2 separate regions of the Homo sapiens genome follow, and region 1 is linked to region 2. The links are contacts of gene promoters, found by promoter capture Hi-C in blood cells and fetal thymus (Javierre and others, 2016). All regions are on one chromosome and are shown on one strand. Each heading gives the region's core, a stretch centred on a gene start or on the middle of the fragment in contact. The rest is flanking DNA. Distances are from core to core; before and after follow the strand shown.

Region 1 (6,534 bases), core at 2,790-5,289, 260 kb before region 2:
TGCGCCACCGCACCCAGCTAATTTTGTATTTTCAGTAGAAACAGGGTTTCTCCATGTTGGTCAGGCTGGTCTCGAACTCCCGACCTCAGGTGATCCGCCCACCTCGGCCTCCCAAAGTGCTGGGATTACAGGTGCGAGCCATCGTGCCCGGCCTAATTCTCTCTTTTCAACTTATTACCATTAGGTTACTCAAGAGAATGTTACTTATCAAGCATTTGTTAGAAAACTGCAACCACTCGTGTTCTTCCAGGCAAAAGCCACTTTCCCATGTCTCAAGAAGCAGTAGAGTGCCGAGTCATTGTGGCCTCTGTAAATGAAGATTCTTCCAACAGCTGGGCTGCTGCCATGTTTGTTTATAACACGTAAAACATTTCCATGTATTTTTGCCATGTAAAGAATGGACTGCCCTTTGGTGAAGGGCAGGATTTGCAAAAAAAAAAAAAAAAAAAAACATGTTGACCTCACGATGTCGCTAGTTCTAGTTCCAATGGCAAATTATTGCTAATTACAAGATTTAAGAGCTATACATGTTGAAACTAAATGTTGAAATGTAGAAGTATTATTAGCAACAATGAATGGAAAAATGGCAGGATTTTAGTGACACAATAAAAAAGTTGAAAGTGTATTTTGGAAATACAATGAACAAGTACATGAGGTCTCAGGTCAGACCAAAATCTTGAACAAGTGATTGTTCAGTGAGATAATTACATAAGGAACTTGTCATAACTCCTGGCACCTAGGAAGCATTTTAATAAATGTTACTGTTATGAACAATTTTTCATCATATTTCCTTATGATAACCATATATCTATTATTTAGGAAGAATAAATACCTCTTATCTACAACTATCCCAGAAAACCTATGCCATTTCTGTTTTATAAAGATCTTCCCTGATTTTTCACCCAACTGAATGCTGGGGCAAAATATTTCTCTCAGTAAATAAAATGTGCTACAATGACTCTGGTGTACCAGAGATAACTGTCCTTCTACACAGCTGTGTATTTGGAAGGAAAAAGATACAGGGGCCAGCCGGGCGCGGTGGCTCACGCCTATAATCCTACCACTTTGGGAGGCCGAGGCGGGTGGGTAACCTCAGGTCAGGAGTTCGAGAGCAGCCTGACCAACATGGCAAAACCCCATCTCTACTAAAATTACAAAAATTAGCCAGGCATAGTGGCAGGTGCCTATAATCCCAGCTACTCCAGACGCTGAGGCAGGAGAATCGCTTGAACACAGGGGGCAGAGGTTGCAGTGAGCTAAGACTGTGCCACTTCACTCCAGCCTGGGTGAAAGAGCAAAATTCTGTCTCAAAAAAAAAAAAAAGAAAAGAAAAAGAAAAAGATACAGGGAACTGTCGTCCATGTGACTAACTCTAAGACGTAGCTCTAGATGCAGGTTTTGACTCATGACTTTAATAAAGAACTGAGGCCTTTGTGAACTTGGAGCCAGGGTCAATCCTCCGCCCTCGGCCCTCCACAAACTTCAATCTCCTTTTCTTTTTTCCTAAAAAGAAAAATATTTTAATTGATACATTTAAACCTTTAAAAACTATTTTGGCTTAAATGGTTCTTTTAAGATGAGTCATTTAAAAACTAATTATAATAAAAATTTCTTCTCCCATTCATATTCAACCTGAATTGACAAGCACACATCACATTAAAAAAAAAAAATCCCTGTTCTACACAAGAATATCCTTAACTTTTGCTTTAATTAAAATACTCTTGGCTGGGCGAGGTGGCTCACACCTGTAATCCCAGCATATTGGGAGGCCAAGGCAGATGGATCACTTGAGGTCAGGAGTTTGAGACCAGCCAGACCAACATGGTGAAACCCTGGCTCTCTACTTAAAAAAAAAAAAAAAAAAAATTAGTTGGCTGTGGTGGCGCATGCCTGTAATCCCAGCAACCCAGCAACTCAGGAGGCTGAGGCAGGAGAATCGCTTGAACGTGGGAGGCAGAGGTTGCATGAGCCAAGGCTGCAGTGAGCCGAGATCATGTCACTGCACTCCAGCCTGGGAAACAGAGCGAGACCCTATCTCCAAAAAAAAAGCAGGAGACAGGGTCTCACTCTGTCGCCCAGGCTGGAGTGCAGGGGCCCAATCATGGCTCACTGCAGTCAGCCTTGACCTCCCCGAGCTCAAGCGATCCTCCCAATTCAGGCTTCCGAAGTAGCTGGGACTACAAGCATGCACCACCACACCCTGCTAATTTTTTTTGTAACTTTTGGAGACAGAGGTTTGTCATGTTGCCCAGGCTGGTCTTGAACTCCTGGGCTGAAGTGATCTGCCTGCCTCAGCCTCCCAAAGTGCTGGGATTAGAGGCATGAGCCACCGTACTTAGCCTGTTTTAATTAGAATATTCTTTAAAATATTATAATTAAGGAAGATTTAAAAGTTTAACAGATGCTTATGGTAAAAAAGAGAGAGAGAAAAAAATACTAAAATATAAAATGGGGGCTGGACACAGTGGCTCATGCCCGTAATCCCAGCACTTTGGGAGGCTGAGGGAGGCAGATCACTTGAGGTCAGGAGTTCAAAACCAGCCTAGCCAACATGGTGAAACCTCATCTCTACTAAACATACAAAAAATTAGCACTGAGTGGTGGCACATGCCTGTAATCCCAGCTAGTCGGGAGGCTAAGGCAGGAGAATCGCTCAAACCCGGGAGGCAGAGGTTGAAATGAGATGAGATTGCGCCACTGCACTTCAGCCTGGGTGACAGACCAAGACTCTGTCTCAAAAAAATAAGATAAAATAAAATTGAAAGAAGTATTACATTCCAACATAAAGAAAAACCTGAGAATCAGAAGCAAATCAAAACTAATTTTTTTTTTTTTTTTTTTTTTTGCTGAAAGCTCAAGATTAATAATACACTTTAAAGGATTTTTATCCCTCATCAGAGACTTATACAGTGCATCTTTTTTTGGCTGGAGTGGGAAGTTAGGGGGAGGCTAGCTGGAAGGAAAGAAAACCTGAGAGCTGCTGGGAGCATTTATAGCACCACAGCAGCAACACTCTGAACAGCAATGAACAATGCGGAAAGGATGCCGCAAACTTCCAATAAAGCTTTTGCCTAAAATAGGAATTCTTTTTCCAGCATATTTGATTTATCTGGTGTCAGAATTCCAACCACCTATATTCCCTGAAGAAATGGGACTCCAAGCCCTGTAATTATTCTACTGGGCTCTACGTGAGAATACAGTAAGGAAAAAGTCTCAGTCATTGTGACAGGGTAGCATTGACATGGTGGATGGTAGAACAATGGGACAGAATGGAGATCCTAGAACAGACGCTCACATAAATGGCCACCTGATTGATTGATTGATTTCTGAGATGGAATCTTGCTCTGTTGCTCAGGCTGGAGTGCAGTGATGCGATCTTGGCTCACTGCAACCTCCACCTCCCGGGTTCAAGCAATTCTCCTGCCTCAGCCTCCCAAGTAGCTGGGATTACAGGCATATGCCACCATGCCTGGCTAATTTTTGTATTTTTAGTAGAGACAGGGTTTCACCATATTGGCCAGGCTGGTCTTGAACTCCTGACCTTGTGATCCACCCACCTTGGTCTCCCAAAGTGCTAGGATTACAGGTGTGAGCCACTGTGCCCAGCCAGCCACCTGATTTGTAACAAAGACACACCACAATGCAGCGGGGAAAGGACAAGTGGCCCTGGGTCAATGGGATATCCTTGTGGAAAGACATGAAACTTGATATATAACAACTTCAGATAGATTATAGTTCTAAAATATAAGAGATAAAACCCAGATGTCTACCAACTACAGAAGGAATAAACTGAAATACTTATACAATGGAATATTACACAGTAATAAAAAGGATAAACTACTGTTATGTGCAATAACATGGATGAATGCCACAGATGTAACACTGGGAAAAGCTGAACATAAAACAGGAAATATGGTATAATTCCATTTACATAAAGTTTAAGAACAAGCAAAATGAATCTAAGGTGATAAAAGTCAGAAAAGTGGCTGTCTTTGGCAGGGCATTTATTTATTTATTTATTTATTTATTTATTTATTTATTTATTTATTTATTCTGAGATGGAGTCTCGCTGTGTCGCCCAGGCTGGAGTGCAGTGGTGTGATCTTGGGTCACTGCAAGCTCCACCTCCGGGGTTCAAGCGAATCTCCTTCCTCAGCCTCCTGAGTAACTGGGACTACAGGTGCCCACCACCACGCCTGGCTAATTTTTGTATTTCTTAGTAGAGACGAGGTTTCACCGTGTTAGCCAGGATGATCTCAATCTCCTGACCTCGTGATCTGCCTGCCTCGGCCTCCCAAAGTGCTGGGATTACAGGCGTGAGCCGTCGCACCTGGCCTGGCAGGGAATACATGTTTTGAGGGAGTTCAAAGGAGTCTTCTGGGATGCTGTAAATGTTTTATATTTTTATGTATATCACAGCTAGGTGAGTACATGCATAACTGAAAACTCACCAGACTGTACACTTTGTGGATGTTACACCTCATTTAAAAAATCTTTACTAGACTTAGTAAACTGTAGTAAGTGAACACTAATGCTAAAATACTACTTCCAGGCATATTTAGAAATAAGACCAAGAGAAAAAAGAGACAATAGAAACAGACCTAAAAGTCAGGAGCTGACAAACTTTTTCTATAAAGGGCCAGACAGTAAATATATTAGGTTTTACAGGATATGTACCACCTCTGTTGCATATTCTCATTTTTACAATCTTTAATATATAAAAAACATTCTTTGCCCACAGACCTTACAAAAACAAGCTACAGGCCATATGCAGCCCATACACAGGGCATACTCTGGATTACTCTGCCATGGGTAATCTAGATTTTGGAGTTATCAGATAAGGATGTTAAAGAATTGCCATTATCTTCAAGAAAATATGAGGCAAGTGGGAGAATTTCATAAGACAACTATAATATGAAAAAAAGAAACAAATATAAATTTCAGAACTAAAAAGCACGCTAACTAAAATCAAGAACTCAATAGGTGAGTTTAACAGCAGCTTTTAAAAGCTTTTACCTTGTAAAAATTGTTAACAGGTTTTAATAGATAAAGAAAGGATTAGCAAACAAAGATGTCAGACGAAAAGAATGAGTACAACCATGGGGAGATAAAATGATACAAAAATGCCATAAAAGTGTGAGAAACAGTGAAAAGCATTAACAATCATGTAATTAGAGACCTAGAAGAAGAGGAGAATGGATCAAAAGACACAACTGAAAGTATAATGTCCATGAATATTCCAAAACTGGTAAAAGATATCAAGCCACGGTGCAAGAAGCACTATGAACCCAAATGCAGGAATATGTACAAAGAAAACTACACACATCTCATAGTAAAATTTATAAAAACCAATGTAAAGGAATCTCAAAAATAGAGAAGAGATACATTAAGAGCAATACTAAGATTTCACCTGACTTCTCAGCAGAAAAGATGGAAGCCAGAATACAATGGTATGCAACCTTCAGAGTAGGAAAAGAAATTAACTGCTTATCTAGAAATCTATGTCCAGAGCAAATGTCCTTAAAAACAAAAAGACAAAATATATTTTCAGACAAATAATAACTAATTTATCACAGCAGACTTTACTTAAAAACTACTAAAAATTAGTTTTTTTTTTTTTGAAACAGAGTCTTGCTCTGTCACCCAGGCTGGAGTGCAGCAGCACAATTTTGGCTCACTGCAACTTCCACCCCCCAGGTTCAAGCTATTCTCCCACCTCAGCCTCCCGAGTAGCTGCGACCACAGGTGTGCACCACCATGCCCAGCTAATTTTGCATATTTTGGTAGAGATGGGGTTTCAGCATGTATCAGGCTGGTCTTGAACTCCTGACCTCAAGTGATCGGCCCACCTCGGCCTCCCAAAGTATTGGGATTACAGGTGTGAGGTGCCGCGCCTGGCCTAAAAATGAGTTTCTTAACAATAAGGAAAATAATCCTAGATAAAAGCAAGGAAATGCAGGAAAGGAAGAGAAACAACATAAATGGTCAAAATGTGGGGAACTCTAAATGAATATTAACTATCTATAATCATAGGAATGCTGTCTTGTGAGTTTAAAATATATGTAATATTAATTATTCCCCATGTACCCACCATCCACTATCTTTAAGCCTCTTCCCTGTGTCCCTTCTGCCTTCCTTCTAGGGATATGAATAACCACTATTTTGAATTGTATGTTTATCACTTCTTCATTTTGCTTTACATTTTTACCATACATGTGTATTCAGCTAAATAAAACATTATTTAATTTTACTTGTTTAACTTATGTAAGTGAAATAAATTTGTATGCATCTTCTATATAGCTTGTATTTTTGCATTTTTTTGCTTAATATTATTTGTATATTTATATTTATACTTGTATAAATATTCATACTTGTATAAATATTTATACTTATACTTGTATAAATATTTATACTTGTATAAATATTTATATGTATATTTGTATAAATCCAGTGAAAATACCCTTCAGGAAGATGGTGAAATAAACACATTCTCAGATGACAGAAAACTAAGAGGATTTATCAGCAGCAAAACTG
Region 2 (6,426 bases), core at 963-3,462:
CCCAGCCCCATCCACTGATTTTTAAAAATTTCAGTATTATATTTTTTATTTCTAGAAGTTCTACTTGGTTACTTCTCCCCAATTTCTCTATGACACTTTTTATAGTTTCTTTTTTATTAGTTAGATATTACTATGTAGTAAACTACTTAAAAACTTAGTGGCTTAAAACAAGGACCATTTATTTATGTGGGTTAGTAATTTGGACTGGGATCATCTGAGAGTCTTTGGTTCTCTGCAGGACTCCATCATGTGTGTGCTCAGCTGTATGTTGCCTAGGAGGCTTTGCTTTTAGGGTTTTGCTAGCTGTTGACTGGGTGTTTTCGCTGTCCTCCATTAGCCTTATCTTCTACATGCCTCTCCCTTATCGTCAGCAGGGTAGCCTGAGTTTATTGTCCTGAAGAAGGCAGGCATATAAGAGACAGCAGACACATACAAAGCCTCTTGGGGCCTTGGCTTGGTATTGGCAGGCCACTTCTGCATTCTACTAGCTAAGACAAGTCATTCTATCAGGCAAAATCAACTCAGATTAAAGAGGAGGTGAAATAGATCCTACCTCTTTATGGGAGGAGCTGCAAAGTCACATTGCAAAGGACATGGATACAGGAAAGGTTGGAGAAATTGGGGCCTTTTTTGGCATCAATCTAACACAAACATATGTAGCCTTTTATATAGTCTTTGTCTGAAAATGCTAGTGTCTGATGCCTTTGCAGGTCAGATGTTTTAGCTGCTTTTTACCTACCAATCTAATTTTCATTTGTGTCTGGTTATCTTTTGCTGTATGTTGGATATTTTATATAAAAAAGTGTGTATGGTAACAATTTGGGTTCTATAATAATGCTTCCTGCTAAAGAGGGGGTAATTCTAGTTTTTATCTCCTTAATTCAATTTTTTCTCTGAATTTTTAGTAATGATTCATGTTCCATAGGTGATGGCCTACAATATAAACAACATGGGAAAGTAGAATTTCCCTGGGGAAGATGTCTGGCTTCAAATAGTTCCCTTCACTAATCGGTAAAGGGATCCTGATTCATGCCAAGAATCAAACACTCCCTTCACTTACAGAAGCAAGTCAGGTTCTCTATCACTGGCCCAACCTAGGGTTTGAGCCTTCCTTTCTACAGGTCCCTTAAATGGCATTACATTGAGCAAAACTGAGCAATTTCCTGTTCTGCAACAGCATGCTCTATTTTCCTGCCTTCATACAATTCTCTCTACTTGGAATGCCCACTTCCTCTTTTCCTATGGAAATATCTCAAGACCCAGCTCAAATACTCCCTTCTCAAGAAGCCTTCCCAACTGGATGCAATTTTTTCCCTCTTCTGAATTCTCTTAGTATTTGGTACTTTTTAACGGACTTTTCTGTCTTGAGGTTACTTGTGTATTCATTTTAATTCCCATTCAATTGTAGAGACCCTACAAGTTACATTACCTGACTACACATCTGTTTATTCATTTCAAAACTGTGAATGGTAATAGAACATCTTTTACAGGGCTGTTGTGAGGATTAAGTTAGCTAACATGTGAAACGCTATTTCTAAGGAATAGTAGTGGAGTGCTCAGATAAATGTTAGCTGTTACTACCATCCCTTAGAAATACTGTGATTTTGATGGAAGAGTTTTCACCAAGGTGAAAGCAGAATCCTAACAACTAATTTTAAAAATTCTGGGCTGGGGCCGGGCGCGGTGGCTCACGCCTGTAATCCCAGCACTTTGGAAGGCTGGGGCGGGCGGATCACGAGATCAAGAGATCGAGACCATCCTGGCCAACATGGTGAAATCCCGTCTCTACTAAAAATACAAAAATTAGCTGGGCGTGGTGGCAGACACCTGTAGTCCCAGCTACTCAGGAGGCTGAAGCAGGAGACTTGCTTGAACCCGGGAGGCGGAGGTTGCAGTGAGCCGAGATCACGCCACTGCAGTCCAGCCTGGACGACAGAGCTTGACTCTGTCTTTAAATAAACAAACAAACAAACAAATAAATAAATAAAATAAACAAAATTCTACTATCTGAGGTAAAGGACGAAAAAGCTTACAGAAGGGCAACCACGGCGGCGCCTGCGCAGAGCCGAGGCGAAGGAGGCAGGGAGAGACCCGGCCTGCCCAGAGTCGCGGAGGGCGGTGCAGCGCATGCGCGGGGCAGGTGAGGCTGCGCGGGGCGGAGCCTGTGGCCCTGGCGCGGCTCTGGGTCCGTCTCGTCGCGTCCGGGTTGTCACTCTCTCGGGTTGTTACTCTGTAGCTTCCCGGCTCGCGAAAGGGAGGACCTGTCTGGGTCATGGATTTTGAGAATCTTTTCTCAAAACCCCCCAACCCGGCCCTCGGCAAAACGGCCACGGACTCTGACGAAAGGTGATCCCATATCTTTTCATCTTTTGAATGCAGGGGCTCAGCGGGACTCCGCCTCTTAGTTTCTTCTGGATTGGAGGCAGTCCGGGGCCACGTCCGGGCCGCGTCGCGAGGGCCCGTGGGGAGCACGTGGGCCGGCCGGGCGCCACCGTCTGACCTATAGAGGTCGTGCGGGGTCCGGGTGGGAGCAGAAGCTGAACGCGGGGCTCAGGCTTAGGCCGTCAGGGCCGGGGCTGTCGAGAGCCTGGGCGGGGGAGCGGGGTGGAGGCGAGAAGGCTCCGGGATGCGCCCCTTTCTCTGCACAGCAGCGGGTGAGGAGCCCGCCTCTGTGGTCCCGTAGCGTCTGTCTTTACCGTTGTTGCCTGTTTCCACGAGACCGTAAACTCCCAGAGGACACTGATGTGACCTTTTTCACTGACACCTCCTAGGTTCTTTTCTGTAGAAAGGATGAAACCACAAGTTTATTGAAAGGTAAAGAATAGGCAATACTCTGCCATTAGTCCACTGATTTGCATGGAAAGACCCTAAAGACCACAATAAAGCAACAGACGTCATTTGGACTTAATATTTCCATTAGGTTGGAAAAGCAAGTGAGACTCTTGGTCAGATGGCCCTAATTTGTAGATTATATTTTTGGAGCAGTGTCTAGTGATTTGAAATGCTAAAAACCACCATCTTTGTTCTTAAACCTACGTCTTTTATTTCCCTCAACTGAGATATATTTCCAGTTGTGATTGATTTTACCATTCGATATTGGTCAGCTGTTCACTCTATCTCAAATTTTACCTTAACTGATCATCCAGAGCTTTACCTTGTGCTTTACATGAAATAAATCACTTAATCCTCAAAACAAACTTAAAGAGAAGATGATGCCGTCCTCGTTTTACAGATGGGAAAACTGAGGCACGGAGAGGCTAAATAACCTGCCGAGATTGCACAGTGTAAGTGGAAGAGCTATGTCCAGGATCCATGATTTTATCACCAAGCTTCTCATGCAAAATGACTAAAATTTTAAAATAAGCCCTATAAATATTGGAAAGAGACAGATACACTAATTACTTGCAGATGATATAATTTACTAAGAAAAATAACTGGTACTAATTGATATGTTATAAAATACATAAGAATTCATCACACAAAAAAAAGATAATAGCAACATTTAAAAATCCGAACAGCAGCTATCAGTTTCAAAGTGTGTTGGACACAAGCTCCATTCCCCAAAACTTGACTGCAATACATAAAAGACACTTGGAATTTTGCCAAAATGATGGGTGAAGGATGGTATGGAAGTATGGTGAGCTGTCCATATTATTTGCCCATTTTTCTCCTTTTTGGTCTTTTTCACATTCTAGGATCTCTTATCTGCGAATACTTTACTCCCAATTGTCATTTGTCTTTGCCTATGGCATTATTTTTCAATGTAAAAAGGAATGGGGATGTTGTGGTTTGGTTTTATGCAGTCAGATGAATCAGTCTTTTCTCATATGGTTTCTGGTTTTTTTTCCGAGTAATTTGTGATGGGAATACTTCTCATTCATTCAAAAAATCGTATTGAGCACCTGCTACGGCCTTGGGGATATAGTAGTAAATGAAGAAGAGATGAAAATTTCTGTACTAATGAATTTACATTATTAGGGGAAGGGGGAGACATACATAAATATATCATATTTTAGGTGGTACTAAATGCCCTGAGAAAATGAATGAAGGGTAAGGGGAAAATAAGCACTGGTGGGATGGTAGGGAGGGAGTAGTTTTGTGGGTTTTTTTTTTATTTTTTTGAGCAGAGTCTGGCTCTGTCGCCCAGGCTGGGGTGCAGTGGCGCGATCTCGGCTCACTGCAAGCTCTGCCTTCCGGGTTCACACCATTCTCCTGCCTCAGCCTCCCGAGTAGCTGGGACTACAGGCGCCTGCCACCACGCCCGACGTATTTTTAGTAGAGACGGGGTTTCACCATGTTAGACAGGATGGTCTCGATCTCCTGACCTTGTGATCTGCCCGCCTTGGCCTCCCAAAGTGCTGGGATTACAGGCGTGAGCCACCGCGCCCGGCTGGGAGGTGTAGATATTTTAAGAAGGTAGATAAGGAAAGCCTCACTGATAACATTGGTAAGTTTTAAAAATCTGTGTAGGGACCTGAAGGAGGTGAGGGGGTTTCATAGTCCAGAGGGGTGGAGAGGAGTCTGTATAAAGGTCCTCAGACGGAGTGAGCTTGGTGTGATTGGGTTAGGGGAGCAAAGTGGCCAGGACAGCTGGGGTGGAGTAAGAGGGACTTGGAAGTCTGCGAGGTACTGGGGTAGGGTTAGGGGAGCCCAATCATGGAGGAACTGGTAGGTGCCGAAATAAGGACTTTGGCTTTTACTCTGAATGAGACAAGAGACCATTGGAGGGTTTTTCAGCAGAGTGACATTTGAAATATTTTAGCAGGGTCATTCTAGTTGTGTTGAGAGTAGAATGTAGGGGTGCCAGAGCAGCTTGGATTGTTGTATTAGTGGCAAGAAGTGGTCAAACGTGGGTATGTTGAAGATAGAATAAACTGGATTTCCTCAGAGATTGGATGGGGATGTGAGAGAGGAATCAAGATTGACTTTAAGGTTTTGGTAGGGATCTTGAGAGGGATGGTGTTGCCGTTTTAGATAGCAAGAAGGATTAGGCTTCAGAGAGAAGAGCAAGAGTTCAGTGTTGGATGTTTTAAGATTACATATGTCTAGTAGATGTTCAGGTGGTTATGTTGACTAGGAAGTTAGCTCTGTTTGGATTTAAGAAGAGGGGTTTGGGTTAGAGACTTGGATATTGAAATCAACTACATACAGATGATATTCATAGTGATGATATAGAAAGGGATAGCCTGGAATGAGAATATAGATGAGAATATAGACAAAGAAGAGAAGAGGTGAGAACTGACTTTGAAAGTTGTGAAGATAAGGAACCAACAAAGGAGACTGAGAAGTAGTAGCTGTGGAAAGAAGAAACTAGAAGAGCCCACTATCTCTGAAGCTAAGTAAAGAACATGTTTTACAGAGAAGAGGTGGTCACCTCTGTCCTATCCTGCTCATAGGTCTAATATGGGTGCTGAGTATTGTAGACCTTCACAGTGAAAGTAGACATCTATTTAGAATGGGCAGTGTTGAATAACAGTGTGATTGTAGGGCACATACTTGGGAGCTTTGCCTGCCTGCTGGGGCTCAGATCTCAGCTCCACCATGTATTAGCTCTGTGACAAGTTACATATCCTTTCTGTGATTGTTTTCTCATCCGTAAAATGGGCTTTTAGTATGTATGTCATAACACTGTTGTTTGTGGTAAGTGTTACGTGTATGGAGCAGCATCTGGCACAGAGTAAGCATCATTCAAGTGTTGGCTGATGCTGTTACTGCTATTGAGGTCATTATTGTCATTATTCCTCTGCCTAAGGAGAGGTTGCCTCCTACTCCATGAGATGATTCATTACTGGAAACTATAGCTATAAAGATTCACAAGTATTGGGGTTTTTGGTTCTTGTAATGGTGGCTTCTGTAGCAGGCTCACAACTTAGTACCTCATCTGATGGATGTAACTCTGGAGCTCTGAGTCAGTGTAAACTGTTGAATTGGACAAAGCTGTGAAGCCTGAGCTCCTGTAACTTTGAAAGAACAGCCACGGAGCCACTGTTCACATTCTCCTTGTGCTGTCAGTGCTTTCCCTTTGTAACATGTTCTCTTGAGATGGGACACATTCCCCAATTCCTTGCCTTTATCTGGTGTGTAACTCATATTTTAATTCACAGCTTTTCCCAATCTTGTGTTCAATAGTCACCACTTACTAAGATAATATTTTCTTCAGCTCCCTATATTTCTAGTATCAACCATTATTCAGATACATCTATACATTTTATTGTCTTCTTTGTTCACCATGTTCTTATATTTCCCATCCCTCTTGGGTTCATATTTAGTTTTGCTGGAATAGCCTCAAGTAATTGTCTCAGACTGTTATATATATGCATGGTCAACTTCTCAGTCCTGTAAGTCTGAAAACAGTTTTTCTTTTTCATCTTTACACTTAAATGTGTTTGTCTCGCTCCTAATCTCAAAAGGCACTCTGCATTCTGC

The links. Contacts are between HindIII fragments. The CHiCAGO score rates a contact against its expected background, and 5 or more counts as called.
Region 1: a fragment that was not itself captured here is called in contact with the fragment with the promoter of ZC3H8 in region 2 in 1 of 17 cell types (erythroblasts); the score reaches 5.1 in erythroblasts.

Annotation. Positions count from the first base shown.
Region 1 is chr2:112,513,468-112,520,001 of GRCh38, reverse strand. All of the region lies in intron 5 of TTL (tubulin tyrosine ligase), which reads right to left. Among named protein-coding and RNA genes, the nearest start is that of POLR1B, 26 kb to the left of the region's middle. The HindIII fragment of the contact is 1,945 bases long and covers 3,067-5,011 here.
Region 2 is chr2:112,250,828-112,257,253 of GRCh38, reverse strand. It overlaps ZC3H8 (zinc finger CCCH-type containing 8), which reads left to right and starts at 2,212. Exons shown (of 9, transcript NM_032494.3): 1 at 2,212-2,346. The coding sequence starts at 2,273. RefSeq lists a cis regulatory region at 228-479 and a silencer at 2,030-2,239. The HindIII fragment of the contact is 1,301 bases long and covers 2,031-3,331 here.